Regions from separate parts of the Homo sapiens genome. Here all the other regions are linked to region 3. Evidence: promoter capture Hi-C in 16 types of primary human blood cells and fetal thymus (Javierre and others, 2016). All regions are on one chromosome and are shown on one strand. Each heading gives the region's core, a stretch centred on a gene start or on the middle of the fragment in contact. The rest is flanking DNA. Distances are from core to core; before and after follow the strand shown.

What was found. Contacts are between HindIII fragments. The CHiCAGO score rates a contact against its expected background, and 5 or more counts as called.
Region 1: a fragment that was not itself captured here is called in contact with the fragment with the promoter of SPAG6 in region 3 in 4 of 17 cell types (total B cells, naive B cells, total CD4 T cells and 1 more); the score reaches 17.4 in total B cells.
Region 2: a contact is called between the fragment with the promoter of MSRB2 here and the fragment with the promoter of SPAG6 in region 3, in 1 of 17 cell types (neutrophils). The highest score is 5.8, in neutrophils.
Region 4: a fragment that was not itself captured here is called in contact with the fragment with the promoter of SPAG6 in region 3 in 3 of 17 cell types (fetal thymus, erythroblasts and total B cells); the score reaches 8.3 in fetal thymus.
Region 5: a contact is called between a fragment that was not itself captured here and the fragment with the promoter of SPAG6 in region 3, in 1 of 17 cell types (fetal thymus). The highest score is 6.9, in fetal thymus.

What each region holds. Positions count from the first base shown.
Region 1 is chr10:21,538,745-21,541,444 of GRCh38, forward strand. It overlaps MLLT10 (MLLT10 histone lysine methyltransferase DOT1L cofactor), which reads left to right. Exons shown (of 23, transcript NM_001195626.3): 3 at 89-168. Among named protein-coding and RNA genes, the nearest start is that of MLLT10, 5.9 kb to the left of the region's middle. The HindIII fragment of the contact is 1,652 bases long and covers 437-2,088 here.
Region 2 is chr10:23,094,290-23,096,989 of GRCh38, forward strand. It overlaps MSRB2 (methionine sulfoxide reductase B2), which reads left to right and starts at 1,290. Exons shown (of 5, transcript NM_012228.4): 1 at 1,290-1,437. The coding sequence starts at 1,320. LOC107984215 (a long non-coding RNA gene) reads right to left here and starts at 990. Exons shown (of 3, transcript XR_001747394.2): 1 at 531-990. RefSeq lists a silencer at 1,098-1,567. The HindIII fragment of the contact is 9,169 bases long and covers 1-2,700 here.
Region 3 is chr10:22,344,205-22,346,904 of GRCh38, forward strand. It overlaps SPAG6 (sperm associated antigen 6), which reads left to right and starts at 1,292. Exons shown (of 11, transcript NM_012443.4): 1 at 1,292-1,432; 2 at 1,519-1,614. The coding sequence starts at 1,408. RefSeq lists enhancers at 1,141-1,360, 1,321-2,137. The HindIII fragment of the contact is 2,343 bases long and covers 1-1,782 here.
Region 4 is chr10:22,975,371-22,978,070 of GRCh38, forward strand. The region is part of intron 8 of ARMC3 (armadillo repeat containing 3); the gene reads left to right. Among named protein-coding and RNA genes, the nearest start is that of ARMC3, 49 kb to the left of the region's middle. The HindIII fragment of the contact is 2,173 bases long and covers 214-2,386 here.
Region 5 is chr10:22,993,290-22,995,989 of GRCh38, forward strand. All of the region lies in intron 10 of ARMC3 (armadillo repeat containing 3), which reads left to right. LOC107984215 (a long non-coding RNA gene) reads right to left here. Exons shown (of 3, transcript XR_001747394.2): 3 at 2,135-2,529. Among named protein-coding and RNA genes, the nearest start is that of ARMC3, 67 kb to the left of the region's middle. The HindIII fragment of the contact is 551 bases long and covers 1,008-1,558 here.

The DNA.
Region 1 (2,700 bases), core at 13-2,512, 810 kb before region 3:
AGGTGGATTAATAGGGCTTTGAAAGGGTATTTGATTTTTCCATAGTTCTTCGAATCTTAACATTTTAACACATTTCATTTTTCAACAGCTTGCTATGGCATTGTTCAAGTACCCACTGGACCGTGGTTTTGCAGGAAATGTGAATCTCAGGAGAGAGCAGCCAGAGTGGTAAGGACTATTTATCAAAAACATTAAACTTTAGTGAGTAGGTTAGGAAATTAGGAACTGCACTCCTGTTGTGGTTTGTGGGGTTGTCAGTCATTTCTTCAAATATCATAATGTAAGAGATAATTTAGGCCAAATATTGACTTGGAGTATTAAACAGATTTTGTAAAACTGAAAAACAAATGGAATCAAGTGAGTATATTTTGGATACTTTGAAAACAAAAATACATAGTCATATTTGGGCTTTGTTAACTAGTTACAGAATCAAGAAAGCTTGAAGAAGTTTGAAGGTTACACTGGCTAATCATAGTTAAAATATAATGGAAATAGAAACATAAGGAAGTTACATTGATAATTCTCTTAGGTTTTGTGTAATGGGAAAAAAACCCAATAATTTTAGTGACTATCATATTCCTTTTACTACATCTTTGGGTGTATAGTTTAACTTCGAACACTCACTGATTTCAGGCATTCAGTCCCTTTGGCAAACCAACATAAAAATCTTTTTTTTTTTTTTTTTTTTAACTTGGGTGGTTACCTTATTTCAGAACTTTTCTAAACCTCTTATAAGAATGAAGGAGGTGCCGGGTGCAGTGGTTCACACCTGTAATCCCAGCACTTTGGGAGGCCGAGGCGGGAGTATCTCGAGGTCAAAAGATGGAGACCACCCTGGCCAACATGGTGAAACCCCGTCTCTACTACAAATACAAAAATTAGCTGGGTGTGGCAAGCACCTGTAGTCCCAGCTACTTAGGAGGCTGAAGCAGGAGAATTACTTGAACCCGGGAGGTAGAGGTTGCAGTGAGCTGAGATGGTGCCATTGCACTCCAGCTTGGGCAATAAGAGTGAAACTCTGTCTCAAAAAAAAGAAAAACAAATTACAAACATTAGCTGGGCGTGGTGGCACGCCCTATAATCCCAGCTATTTGGGAGGCTGAGGCAGGAGAATGGCGTGAACCTGGGAGGCGGAGGTTGCAGTGAGCTGAGATCATGCCATTGCACTCCAACCTGGGTGACAGAGCAAGACTCTCAGGAAAGGAAAAAAAAAAACAAAAAGGAGGTAGGCCGGGTGCAGTGACTCACACCTGTAATCCCACCACTTTGGGAAGCCGAGGCAGGAGGATTGCTTGAGTCCAGGAGTTTGAAACCAGCCTGGTCAACTTAGTCTCTACAAAAGAAAAATTTTAAAAATTAGTTGGGGCTGGGCACAGTGGCTCATGCCTATAATTCCAGCACTTTGGTAGGCTGAGGTGGGCGGATCACTTGGGGTCAGGAGTTTGAGACCAGCCTGGCCGACATGGTGAAACCTATCTCTGCTAAAAATACAAAAAATTAACTGGATGTGGCAGCGCGTGCCTATAGTCTAGCTACTCTGGGGGCTAAGACGGGAGAATCGCTTGAATGAGGGAGCCAGAGGTTGCAGTGAGCCAAGATTGTGCCACTGCACTCCAGCCTGCACTCCAAACAGAGTGAGACTGTTTCAAAAAAAAAAAAAAATTAGTTGGGCGTGGTGGCTTGCACCTGTACTCCCAGCTACTCTGGAAGCTGAGACAGGAGGATTGCTTGAACCTGGGAGGTTGAGGCTGCAGTGAACCATGACTCCAGCCTGGGTGACAGAGTGAGAGACTGTCTCACAAAAAACACAGTGAGGGAGGTATGTTTATCCTTTGTATCCACAAGCATTTTTCCCATTTGGATTTCTGAAAATATCAGAAATAGATTTTATTTTCATTAGTTATGCAAACCTACCATTTAAAATATGATAGTTCCTTTTTAAAATCTTATTATATTTATTGATTTATTATTTATTCCAAGACATCTTGTTATAGCAAATTCCTTTCCCTTGGTGTTGATTATGGAATTAGACTGAAGGTAGAGAACAAACATTTTAGCTTCTTTACCTAGGCATATAGCAAAAGCAGAAGCTTTTGTGTTTGCCTGGGCAATTTTTGAGCGGTAGAAATAATGGGCTGGGTGCTGTGGCTCGTGCTTGTAATCCTTGCACTGTGGGAGGCCAAAGTGGGTGGATGACCTGAGGTCAGGAGTTTGAGACCAGCCTGAGCAACATGGCGAAACCCCACCTCTACTAAAAATACAAAAATTAGCTGGGTGTGGTGGTGTGCACCTGTAATGCCAGCCACTTGGGAGACTGAGGCAGGAGAATCGCTTGGACCTGGGAGGCAGAGGTTCCAGTGAGCTGAGGTTGCGCCACTGCACTCCAGCCTGGGCGACAGAGCGAGACTCGTCTCACAAAAAAAGAAAGAAATAATGGTTGAGTAACCTATAAAAATGTGTTGAGTCTCAGAACTATTTGTATTTTATTATTTTGAGACAGTCTTGCTCTGTTCCCCAGGCTGGAGTGGAGTGGCGCAATCATTGCTCACTGCAGCCTTGAAGTCCTGAGCTCAAGAGATCCTCCTGCCGCAGCTTCCTGAGTAGCTGGGACTTACAGGCCTGTAGCACTTAACACCCAGCTAATTTTTTAATTTTATTTTTGAGACAGTCTCGCTCTGTCGCCCTGGCCGGAGTGAAGTA
Region 2 (2,700 bases), core at 40-2,539, 750 kb after region 3:
TTTGTGATCTTGGATTAGGCAAAGATTTCTTAAATATGATACCAAAAAAAGAACAATCCATTAACAAATTGATAAATTGGGCTTCATCAAAATTAAAAACTGCTCTTCCCAAGACAATATTAGGAGACAGAAAAGACAAACAAGAGACTGGGAAAAAAAATCTTTGTAAAGCATATGTTTGATAAAAGATTTGCATCCAAAATATATAAAGTGTTCTAAGCTCAATAATGAAACAACTCAACATTAAATGGGCAAAAGATCTGAACGGACACTTCACCAAGGAAAATACACTCGCTGCAAATACGCACATGAAAAGATGCTTAACATCATTAACGATTAGAGAATGCATAATAAAGCCACAATGAGCTACCACTACACAGAACCGGAACATCTACAGTTAAAATCTCTGGACTTTCAAGTGTTGGCAAGGATGAAGAACAACTGGAACTCGCATAGACTGCTAGTGGGAAGGTAAAGAAAAAAACCACTTGGGAAAACAGTATAGTAGTTTCTTAAATGGTTACACCTACCTTACGACCTGGGCATTCCACTTCCAGGTATTTACCCCAGAGAGGAAAAACCGTATATGTCTGTACAAAGATTTGCACAGGGATGTTCCTAGCAGCTGTAGTTCTAATCAGGAAAAATTGAAAGCAGGCTAAATCAAGTGCTGACTAAACACACGGTGGTATATCCATAAATGGAATACTGCTCAGGAAGCAATGAATGATTGTTCCATGCAAAAACACGCAGGCATGTCAAAGTAACTATGTTGAGTGAAAGAAGCCAGACAAAATCAAGTACATATGGGATGATTCCATTTATGGACGACTCTAGAAAATGCAAACTAAAACAGATCAGTGTTTGGGCTGCGGATGAGTGGAGTTGGGATAGGTGGAGGGGGGCAGGGCGAGGGAGGAGCAGGAGTGGGAGGAGCTGGGAGATGCAGAGATGGGTTGGGGAGGGTCTCATGGAAGGGAAGGGAGAGAGGAAGGGGGAGAGGAAGGGGGAGGAAAGGCAAGGGGAAAAGGAGAGGAAGAGGGAGGGGGAGAGAGAGGCAGAGTGGGAGGAAAGAGGGGCGGGGACCTGGGAGGGCCCAGGGCACATAGTGGGAGGAGCAGGTGGGAAGGAGGGAAGGAGGGAGGGGCAGGGGAGGGAGAAGAGGGGGAGGGAGACGAGGGGACTGGCGGTGTGGGCGGAGCGTGGGGAGGGAGGCCGACTAGCGCAGGCGGACGGGAGAGAATGGGGGAGGGGTGGGATGGGAGCAGGGGCAGAGACGGGCAGAGGGCAGAGGGCGGAGCGGCGCCGGAGCGGGCGTCATGGCGCGGCTCCTCTGGTTGCTCCGGGGCCTGACCCTCGGAACTGCGCCTCGGCGGGCGGTGCGGGGCCAAGCGGGCGGCGGCGGGCCCGGCACCGGGCCGGGACTGGGGGAGGCAGGTAGGACGCGGGTCCCGCAGGCCCCGCCGCCGCCTACGGCTTTCGGCTTCATTTCACCGGCTGCACCCGGGAGCCTAGGGCCGGTCCAGGCCGGGCGCTGCCCTCCTACTAAGCCCTCCTCGGCGCGCCCCTCCCCCCCCCCAGCCCGAGGATCTGGGACAGTGGATTGTAAACTTGGTGGCGGCAGGGTGGGGACTGACCCCTGTGAGAATCCGAGGAAATGAACAAATGATCCCCCTAAATGTGCGCATAATTTTTTTTTTCTTGGCTCGGGGAGTGGGGGCATAAGTGGGGCTCGGGGGCCTCTGACCCCTATCGGGGACTCCAGGCGAAGGCCCGGGGCCTGGGCTGTAGCAGCCCGGCCCGCGCGCCCCTGCGAAGGCCCCTAGTATTTTGCATTGCAGCCCTCTTCGTAGTTCCGCGGGCTTCCTTCCAGCATCTGAGAAGCAGGCAGTTCAGACTTGGGGTTCCTGTGAGTGTTTCCTGCCCTGCTGACTTCCCATAAATGTGTCTAAGAGCCAGGGAGACTGGGTTGATCATTTGTTCCTTCTTTAAGGTGACAGCCATTGTTAATGACTGAGACAGAGACCAGGGCGAGCCTGTGTGTGTGTGTCTCTCTCTCTCTCTGTGTGTGTGTGTGTGTGTGTTTCTGCTAAATACTTTTGGATCCTCTCTTGGATCTGGGTACCTGCACATTTCACCAAGCAGGAAGGAGTCACCTCGGGAGACCTGTGCCAGCTACCCCTGTATTTCAGTTCTATTTCAGGGTAACTTAGTGCCCCAGGGGATTGGCTTCCTGGGCGGTTGCCAGACTGACCCACTCTGAATCCAATTTTATATGTGTTCATTGAAGACATTCAGAGATACCCAACTGATGAAAATGTACCAACTCATTCTGAGCTCTTTTTAGCCCCTGAAGTTTTCGAAATGCAATATTGAAAGAATACGTAACTAAATAAAAGCGTTGGCGTTGTGGAATGTTAGCTCATCCAACTTGACTTCCAGCTATGGCCTTTCTAATCACTGGTGTCTCTAGTCAGTCTGATGACATTTGCTGTGAGCCTACTGTGTGCCAAGCATTGTATTGCTGAGAACCACAGGTGATAGAAACAGGTCACAGTTACCGACGAGCTCTCTATAACCCCTTGAAAAAGGATGGTGGTTTTAGCGGTAACTACTTCATGGCTGTAATTGCTGCTGTCAGAAGCAGCCTAATGAATTGCCCTGGGATCTGAAGTTCTCCAGCAACAATAAAATTTGGCC
Region 3 (2,700 bases), core at 42-2,541:
AAGACATGTACCTGCCCTTCGGGGGTATTAGGGACCCGACTAAACACACTTATTCTTCTCTCTGATTGCTGGACCATTCCCCAACTATTTGGAGCTCCACAAAGTATCAGGACTTCATCAAGAGCTCAGTGAAGGGTGAGATCTCAAAGATAAATATAGAGGACTCATTCCAAATATAGAACCAGTTAAGTTTGCATGCTCCCTTCTGTTGAAGAAATATCAAGGGGTTTCCTGTCTTGGCACTACTTAGCAGCAGCTGCGGCTATGTATCCACTTGACATCTGGTGAAATTGTAGTTTTTGATGGAGGAACATTTAAAGTTGACAACTGTCATTGAAACAACTGGTATATAGTTTTCAAAGACAAGCTAGAAACCAGTAATAGACTAAGTACTTCAATTTTGTTAAAAGAAACTGGGTAAAGGGTTCAAGTTATATAAGATAGGGAAGTCTGGTTTTCCAGGTAAAGGTTCTCTCTCTTTTTCTGTTGGAGATGTCATTCATCAACATAACGAAGCCTAAATTTAAAAGACTAAGACAAAATATTTACAAATCACATAAAAGTGAGGAAACAGCAAAATTAGTAGTCATTAGGAGAAAGCCAGGGAAGACAGGACATTCATCACATCCTTTCCTCATCTGCTTTCCTCACTGAGTCTCTGAGTGCTCATTAAATGCTTTCAATACAGTGTAATTAAGTGTGTGAACATGGTTGTCATGCTCCTCCAGGAATCTTGAAACCAGGAATGCCAGGTATATAACAGCGGGTTACAAAAGAAAACACGGATTCCTAAATCAGTGTTTTACTGTCAGTGCAGTGTTAAATGTCAATGCAACACTTAAGTTGCATTGACATTCATGTGTTGATCGGATTGTACAATGTGACGTGTGAGATTTCTCGGGACCGTCGAAGCTCAGACAACTCCAGGGCTGCAATTTACTCGTCTGGCTGCCCTCGAACCAGGCTCCCTTGGCGCGTGGGGCTCTCCCGGCGCTTGGTCCCGACCCGCGCCGCAGTCAGGATACCACGGCAATCTGGGGTCGCTTTGTAAGGAGCTCCGACCTCCGGGCAGTGCAGGGATACTCGACGGCGCGCGATGTCCCGGCGGCTCCGCGAGCCTGGCGCGCTGAGAGCCCCAGCAGTCCGAGTCCTCGAGCTCGGGCGTCTTCGCGCCGCCGCCCCGCTCAGTGCGCCCAGGCACCGCGGCCGTGACGTCACGCCCGGGACTGGCCGTTGCAGCAAGACGGCCGCGTTCCGGTTCCGGTAGGTTGCCCGGGAGACGCGGGTACACAGAGAAGCGGCTCCCGTCGGAGGCCGAGTCGTCGCCACGATCGCCCCCTTGGTGGACTCGCAGGCCGAGCGGCTTCCCCGCAGAGCTCGAGGAGGGCAGACGGCGGCGGGGGCGCCATGAGTCAGAGGCAGGTGCTGCAAGGTAGGGCCGAGGCGGGCAGGTGCCCTAACTAGCTGGCGCCGAGGAGACCCGGGTGCGGTGGGCTCCACCGACTCTCTCTCCCGCAGTGTTCGAGCAATACCAGAAGGCCAGGACCCAGTTCGTGCAGATGGTGGCGGAGCTGGCGACTAGACCCCAAAACATCGAGACGCTGCAGAACGCGGGTGAGCCCGGAGCCCGAACCCCCGTCGCCCCCCGCGCACTGAGTCCCCGACGCCTCCGCCCCGCTGCCCTGCCCGTGGAGCTCTTGGGGAGCCGCAGTGTGGGGACCGGAGTTCGCAAAAGCATCCATTCTTTTCAGCGGGTCTTTGGGGGTCAGGCCGAGAGGGTGAAGCTTCCAGATGGTTGTGGGAGGTGCGCGTTGTCCCTGTTTCCATCTTCATTGCACACAGGCAAGTGTCAGGTTGAAAGTCGAGGCCCTAGGAATTGCCTGGAGTCATTTTACGTGAATGGGACTCTACCCTAATGAGACCCATTTTATCCAAGTGCCATTTTGCATGCCACCCTGCCTTTGATCACCTTCGACTTCCTCACAGCAAAGCAATTCCAGTGGTTTAGACGTGATTTCTCGTCTTGCTTTAGTGAAAGGGGAATGATATGCTTGAATCTTTTCCAAGAAATTCCAAGTAGGTAGAGACCAGACTTTGCGAAATCCTTATGGCGCGTTCCTTCTACTCCTCAGTCCGGACTCTTGCAGATGTGAGAGGGGGAGAGAGGGGGAGAGGGAGGGAGAGAGATCTTCTTATCTCATAACATAAACTGATAAGAGAAAATGGTTCTTCTTCTTCTTCTTCTTCTTCTTCTTCTTCTTCTTCTTCTTCTTCTTCTTCTTCTTCTTCTTCTTTCTTCTTCTTCTTCCTCTTCTTCTTCTTCTTTTCTTCTTTCTTCTTTCTTCTTCTTTTTTTTTGGATGATTCTACCACCATCTGAACTGTAAGGTAGCATTTTATCACTACTGTGTCATGAGAAATCTTCAGTTTATAGGATGTGATCTTTAAAACTAACACATAATTTAAACAATTAACATGTTGACAGCAAGAATACTTAAGTGTAATGATTACTCTGGGTTTCTTTGAGGGGAATTACTACTGCACCTATGTGATACTTCGTTTTGTCACTAGGATTTTTGGCATTTATTCCTTGTGTGTTTTTATTGGGGGGCATGTATTTACAATAAAGTATATTTTATAATCTTCTAAACGCATTTTAGTTTGAAATAATTGTAGATTCACAACTGTAAGGGATAATACA
Region 4 (2,700 bases), core at 50-2,549, 630 kb after region 3:
ATGGTGAAACCGTGAAACCCCATCTCTACTAAAAATACAAAAAAATTAGCCAGGTGTAGTGATACATGCTTGTAATCCCAGCTACTCGGGAGGCTGAGGTAGGACAATCACTTGAACCTAGGAGGTGGAGGTTGCAGTGAGCCAAGATCGCACCATCGCACTCCAGCCTGGGCAACAACAGAGAAAGTCCATCTCAAAAAAACAAAAATGAAAAGCTTATCTATGAAGATTGCTTTTGTATTGTTCAAGCCTGATTTGCATTATTTTGCATATATGATTTTTTTGCTGTATTAAGGTAGAATTTTTTATCCTGAGTTTGAAAATTTTGCCGAAATATGTCTAAGTCCCCCTCTCCACTGTCTCCACTACACAGGCAAGCCTTTTGATCTCCAGAGTCATGATTTTTTCCCCTAATTCAGGAAGCTAGTTTTTTCCACTATACTTTGGATTCTTGTTTTTGTTTCACTTAATCTTTTTTCCTCATGAATACTTATTTTTAGACCATCTCTGTTCTCCTTTCTATGCAGTGTTTCATAATTTTGGTTTTTAATGCTCATCATGGAATGCAGAGGACTCTACCTGGGCCTAGTTTTAATGAATAGATGAAGCCTACAGGGTGCCCTTTGCCTGTTTTCCCATCAATTGAAAGGGCAGTGGACTCCTTTAGCCCAATTGTGGATGAGGAGGAGACTTTCCCATAATGCAGTATTGCAACGCCAGAGTTCGATTCTCCTGATCCCACTGGTTTATATAAGAGGAAGGTGATATAAGTTCAGAGCTTTCTAAGAGGCCCTTCATTGTCTGTGGCCTGGGTGACTTGTGGAAATTTGTTTCTTCCTCTCTTCCCCTTGCCCCAGGGTCCTCTTTTTCTCCTTTTCTTATCAACCTCTTTGACAGATCAGTCCATTTTAAATAGCCACATCTCCTCAGCTCATCTCCATCATTTCACCTGCTGCACCTGACTTCTGTTTCTGCCATTCTGCCAAAATAGTCCTTGTACAATTTGACGTTGACCTCTCAACTCCGAAATCCTGCAGAGGCATTTTCAGTCCTTTTTAACGTGACCTCTGGGTGGGAATCCACACTGCTGATTGCCCTCTCCTCCTGTAAACTCTTTTATTCCATCGTTTTCAAAACACCCCTCTCTCCTGATTGTTCTTCAAATTACCAGACCAGCCTTCACCTTTACCACTTTCCTCAGCTTATTTCAACCTAAACTTGCCTTCTGTTTTATGTCTTGTTCTCTTGAAAATCTCCCTGAGCACTCTTACTTATGACTAATGTTTCAGCTGCCTCCTTATTTGCTTATGAATCCCAAATCTGTTTCTAATTCTGACCTGTCTTCTGAATTCCTGCCTGTATTTCTGACAGCTTCCAAGCACATCCAACTATACTGCCCACACTCCACTTTGGGGAGTGTTAAGTTTCTTTGACAATCTGAACAAAGAGTAACCTTCTGAAAATGCACAAATACACTACATTCTGCATATAATTGCAGGGAGTTCACGGACTGCCTGAAGCCCACCTGTCTTCTGAATAACTCTTGAGCTAGAATAAGCAGGATCAAATCCAGATAGCCCCACTTGGCATCAGAGATTCTTCTATTTTACACAAGCACATGGCCATTGGTTATCAATTTGTTCTTCCTCAGAAACTCTCCCTTGTGGTCTGGATTGTATAACTTTGTTCGACCATAATTTTATACTCATTTGCTCTGGTTTGGGCCTTTTGTCTGGATTCTGGTTTGGGAAATGCTGTTTTGATCTATTGGTATCCATGTTCTTCAAATGGCTAGATTTAGAGGAAATCTCAAATTTTCTAATTCTGTTAATTTTCAAGGTGTCAATAAAATAACTGGTTTCTCTTTCTGTCCTTAAGAAATTAAAAAACCTGCTTCCTCGTGCTGTAACCTAGTATAGCCCACTCTGCTCTACATCTGCTACCAGTTTTCTCACACCAGACCTTCACCTGTTCCCACTATGGTAGATTAAAGCAACAACCTGTGCATGAACTAAAGTAACCCGGCCCTCATTGGAATACCAAGCAAGCACAGCACAAAAGTTAACTTCCATTGCTGAGCAGAACCTCCATTTCCCAGATCTACCTTAACATCATTCAACCAACTGCCCATCTGTATTAAAGTCGGGCTCCTTCACCATGGTCTTGCAGGTTTCCTCTATTACTGTGCAAACTTCCATTTTATAATTCAACTTATTCAACTGGTAATCTTCCTCCATCCCTTCTGACATAGCCTCCTTCCTTCTTAAATTGTTTTCATCTTTGGCAACTCTACAAAAACTGAAAAAGTATGCCAGGTAGGTCTTCAAATTCAGTGAATGCAGAGGTGGTTTAATTTTCTTATAGCCTAGGAGATATCTGGTCTGAAAGCTTGATTCTTGGAACCTCTAGAAAGATAGATGATTCCACGAAGATTCAAACTTTCTCTCTGTTCACATATCCCAATAAATTATTATGAATGAATGCTCTTCTCATTGGAAGTGCAGAGCTTTGAGAAAATCTCTCCATTCCAGAAGCAGGATTTCCCCTAAGGACTCTGATCTGCCTTAGCCATGACATTTTTGGGCAGTACTGCCCACTTCTGACCAGAACACAATATTAGGGCAGAACCAACATCTTTGAGGCCAGTGCTAGAAGATAGGTTAAATCTTTGTCATTGCCTAATTATTCTCCTCTATTTTG
Region 5 (2,700 bases), core at 33-2,532, 650 kb after region 3:
ATAGAGACATCCCTTGATAAAAGAGAAGAATATATTCCCAAGAAGTTGTCTAAAGTGTAAAATTTTATTTCTTGAATACCATCTAAAAATTACCTCACTGTATAATTGGAGAAGCATGAGGGCAGGGAGGAAATGAACCAATTTCAAGAGCAGCTGTAAGTGATAAAACTGGAAATCGCAGTGTTGCTGGATCCTATCCCTTCTTGCAAACTTAAAGCTGAGCTAAGCACTTTCCCCCTCCCTTCTTCTTGATACCTGCAGCGAATTTCTGCTCACTCACCTTGAGTTGATTCGAGTCAATTAAAATACATTGATCTTCTCAGCACCGGAAATATAAATAAGACTCAAATATTACCTCTAAGAGGTAAGTACCAGGTACAGACATAGCACAGCAGAGGGAGTGATTAACAAGGAGGGCCGTGATGGTCACAGATGACTTTGCAGAGGAAGGGACAGGTAAGCAGAGAGTGAAGAATGAGCTAGTGTTCTCCAGCCACAAGTGCCAGAGGGATAGGGAAGGGTGTTTGGGACAAAGGGACCACAAGTGCAAAGACACAGACATGAAATCGCACAATATTTTTAGTGAGCCATAGACGCTATTTGTGTTTGAATTTTTCCTCAGTGATGTTCTTAGCATCCTTTCTGTAAGTGCTCTTTTATTGTGGGGCTTGGGCATTTGAATGAAAAATCTGCTGAATTCCATTCATGAGTGCTGCAAAATAACATTTTTAAATTGTTACTTTTTTCTGATGTAAACATTTATGCCAGAACATCATATTTTTAAACAAAAAGAAATGTGTATATTTAGCACACAAATGCTCTGAGCTCATGTTAAAAAGAAATCTCCTTTGGGGATCCAGAAGTGCCTCCTTGAGGAAAAGACATTTGTGCTGAGCTGTGAAAGAGGGCTGGGCATTGTCCTGGGGGAAGAGGATGTCAGGAAATGGGAAGAGCGCAGGGGAGCCCTGATGTGGGAAAGAGCCTGGCATATTGAAGGCTGCAAGAGAAGCTTAGAGCACGGAGCAACAGGAAGAGGCGGCGAGGGGCTGGGGGTGCATGGGGCTGGCGTGAGAAGTGGGGGCCGCTTGTGTAAGGCCTTGGAGGCCATGTCAGAAATTTGGGGGTAGGCCAGGCATGGCGGCTCACTCCTGTAATTCCAGCACTTTGGGAGGCCGAGGTGGCAGGATTGCTTGAGGCCAGAAGTTTGGGACTAGCCTGGGCAACGTAGCAAGACTCCATCTCTAGAAAAATAATTTAAAAATATAACAAAAAAGAAAAAGAAAAAATTGGGAACTTTATCCTAAGCAATGGGAAACCGTGAAAGTTTTAAGTAGGGGAGCAATATGATTATAATTTTAAAACATCACTTTAGCTGTAAGACGGAGGAAGGACTGGAGGGGGTGAGGAGAGACCTCTTAGGAGATTATTTATATCAACCCACAAGAGAGGATGCTGAATTGGATTCTGTGGGAGGATGGAGAGAAGGGAGAGATTTGAGAAATATGGAGGAGGAAAATAGTCAGGACTTGCTAATAGATTGACGTCACATGACATGTCAAGCTTCACCTCTGTTTACATATATCAAATGATATAAACAGATGTTTTCATACATTCCCATATTTGTTTTTTAGTTTGTTTTTTTCCCAATTTACATTTTAAACTCTTACTTGATTAAACTCCAACTGGATGGAGACTAATGATAGTAAATATCAGAAAATATTTTCAAATTATTGTGATGACATATGGCCCTATAATTCTGGATTTTAAAACAAAGCAGTTTGACTTCCATCCCATTCATTTGGATAATGCTATACTATTTGGGAAACCAAAATAATGGCTTTAAAAATATGACAGGCTTCAGCTTGTGTACAGGGAAAAATACAACAGAATGTCTGAGGTTTGAAATAAACAGAATTAATTCAATTCTTTTTTGTTTTTTAAACAAACAATTTTGTTTCAAAAAAGAATTTTGTTCAATTCTTTTTTGTTTTTTAAAGTACAAGTTCTGGGCTCTACTTCTGTATATAAAATTAGTTTTTTTAAGGTAAGAATAATAGTTTAATTTACCACCATAATAAGTTAATCTCAATTATTCTTTTTAGACTTAGTGCTGCATATAGCAAATTACGGGCAAATATGTACATATAATGCAGGTTGTGCCAGCTGTGCCTGCACGACTCATCTTTCTGTGCTGGCATTTATGTTCAATTTAGTAAAAGCTATATTCCACTGTGTACTAGAATCTTTGGTTTTTTAAACACCTAGTTTTTTATGCATTTCCCTTTACTGTCTCCATCAAGAGCAAAGAAAAGAGCAGAAGGTAGAGATATAAATGAACCAAGTCAAAATATGCCTTTGTAGAGGAGAAAGAAAGAAACAAAATCAAAGCAGAAAGGCTGACTGTTCGGATATACCTGATGTAAATTCCTGTATTTCCATGATCCAATTTTTCTTCGTTTCTTAGTTTTCAAGATGAAAGAAAAAGATGATGTATGACCCTGCGAACTCCTTTAGTTTTCCAAAAACTCCCTGGTACACACAAAAGACAAAGTATTTGAGAATTTATTGTTTGCATTTACTTAAAATACTTCTGTTTCTATCCTGGATGCCATTGAAGTACCCTGCGATTGTATGCTCTTTCTTAACTCTACAGGATGTTTTAAAAAGTGAACATTCTCGAGGGAAAACCACCAAGTGACA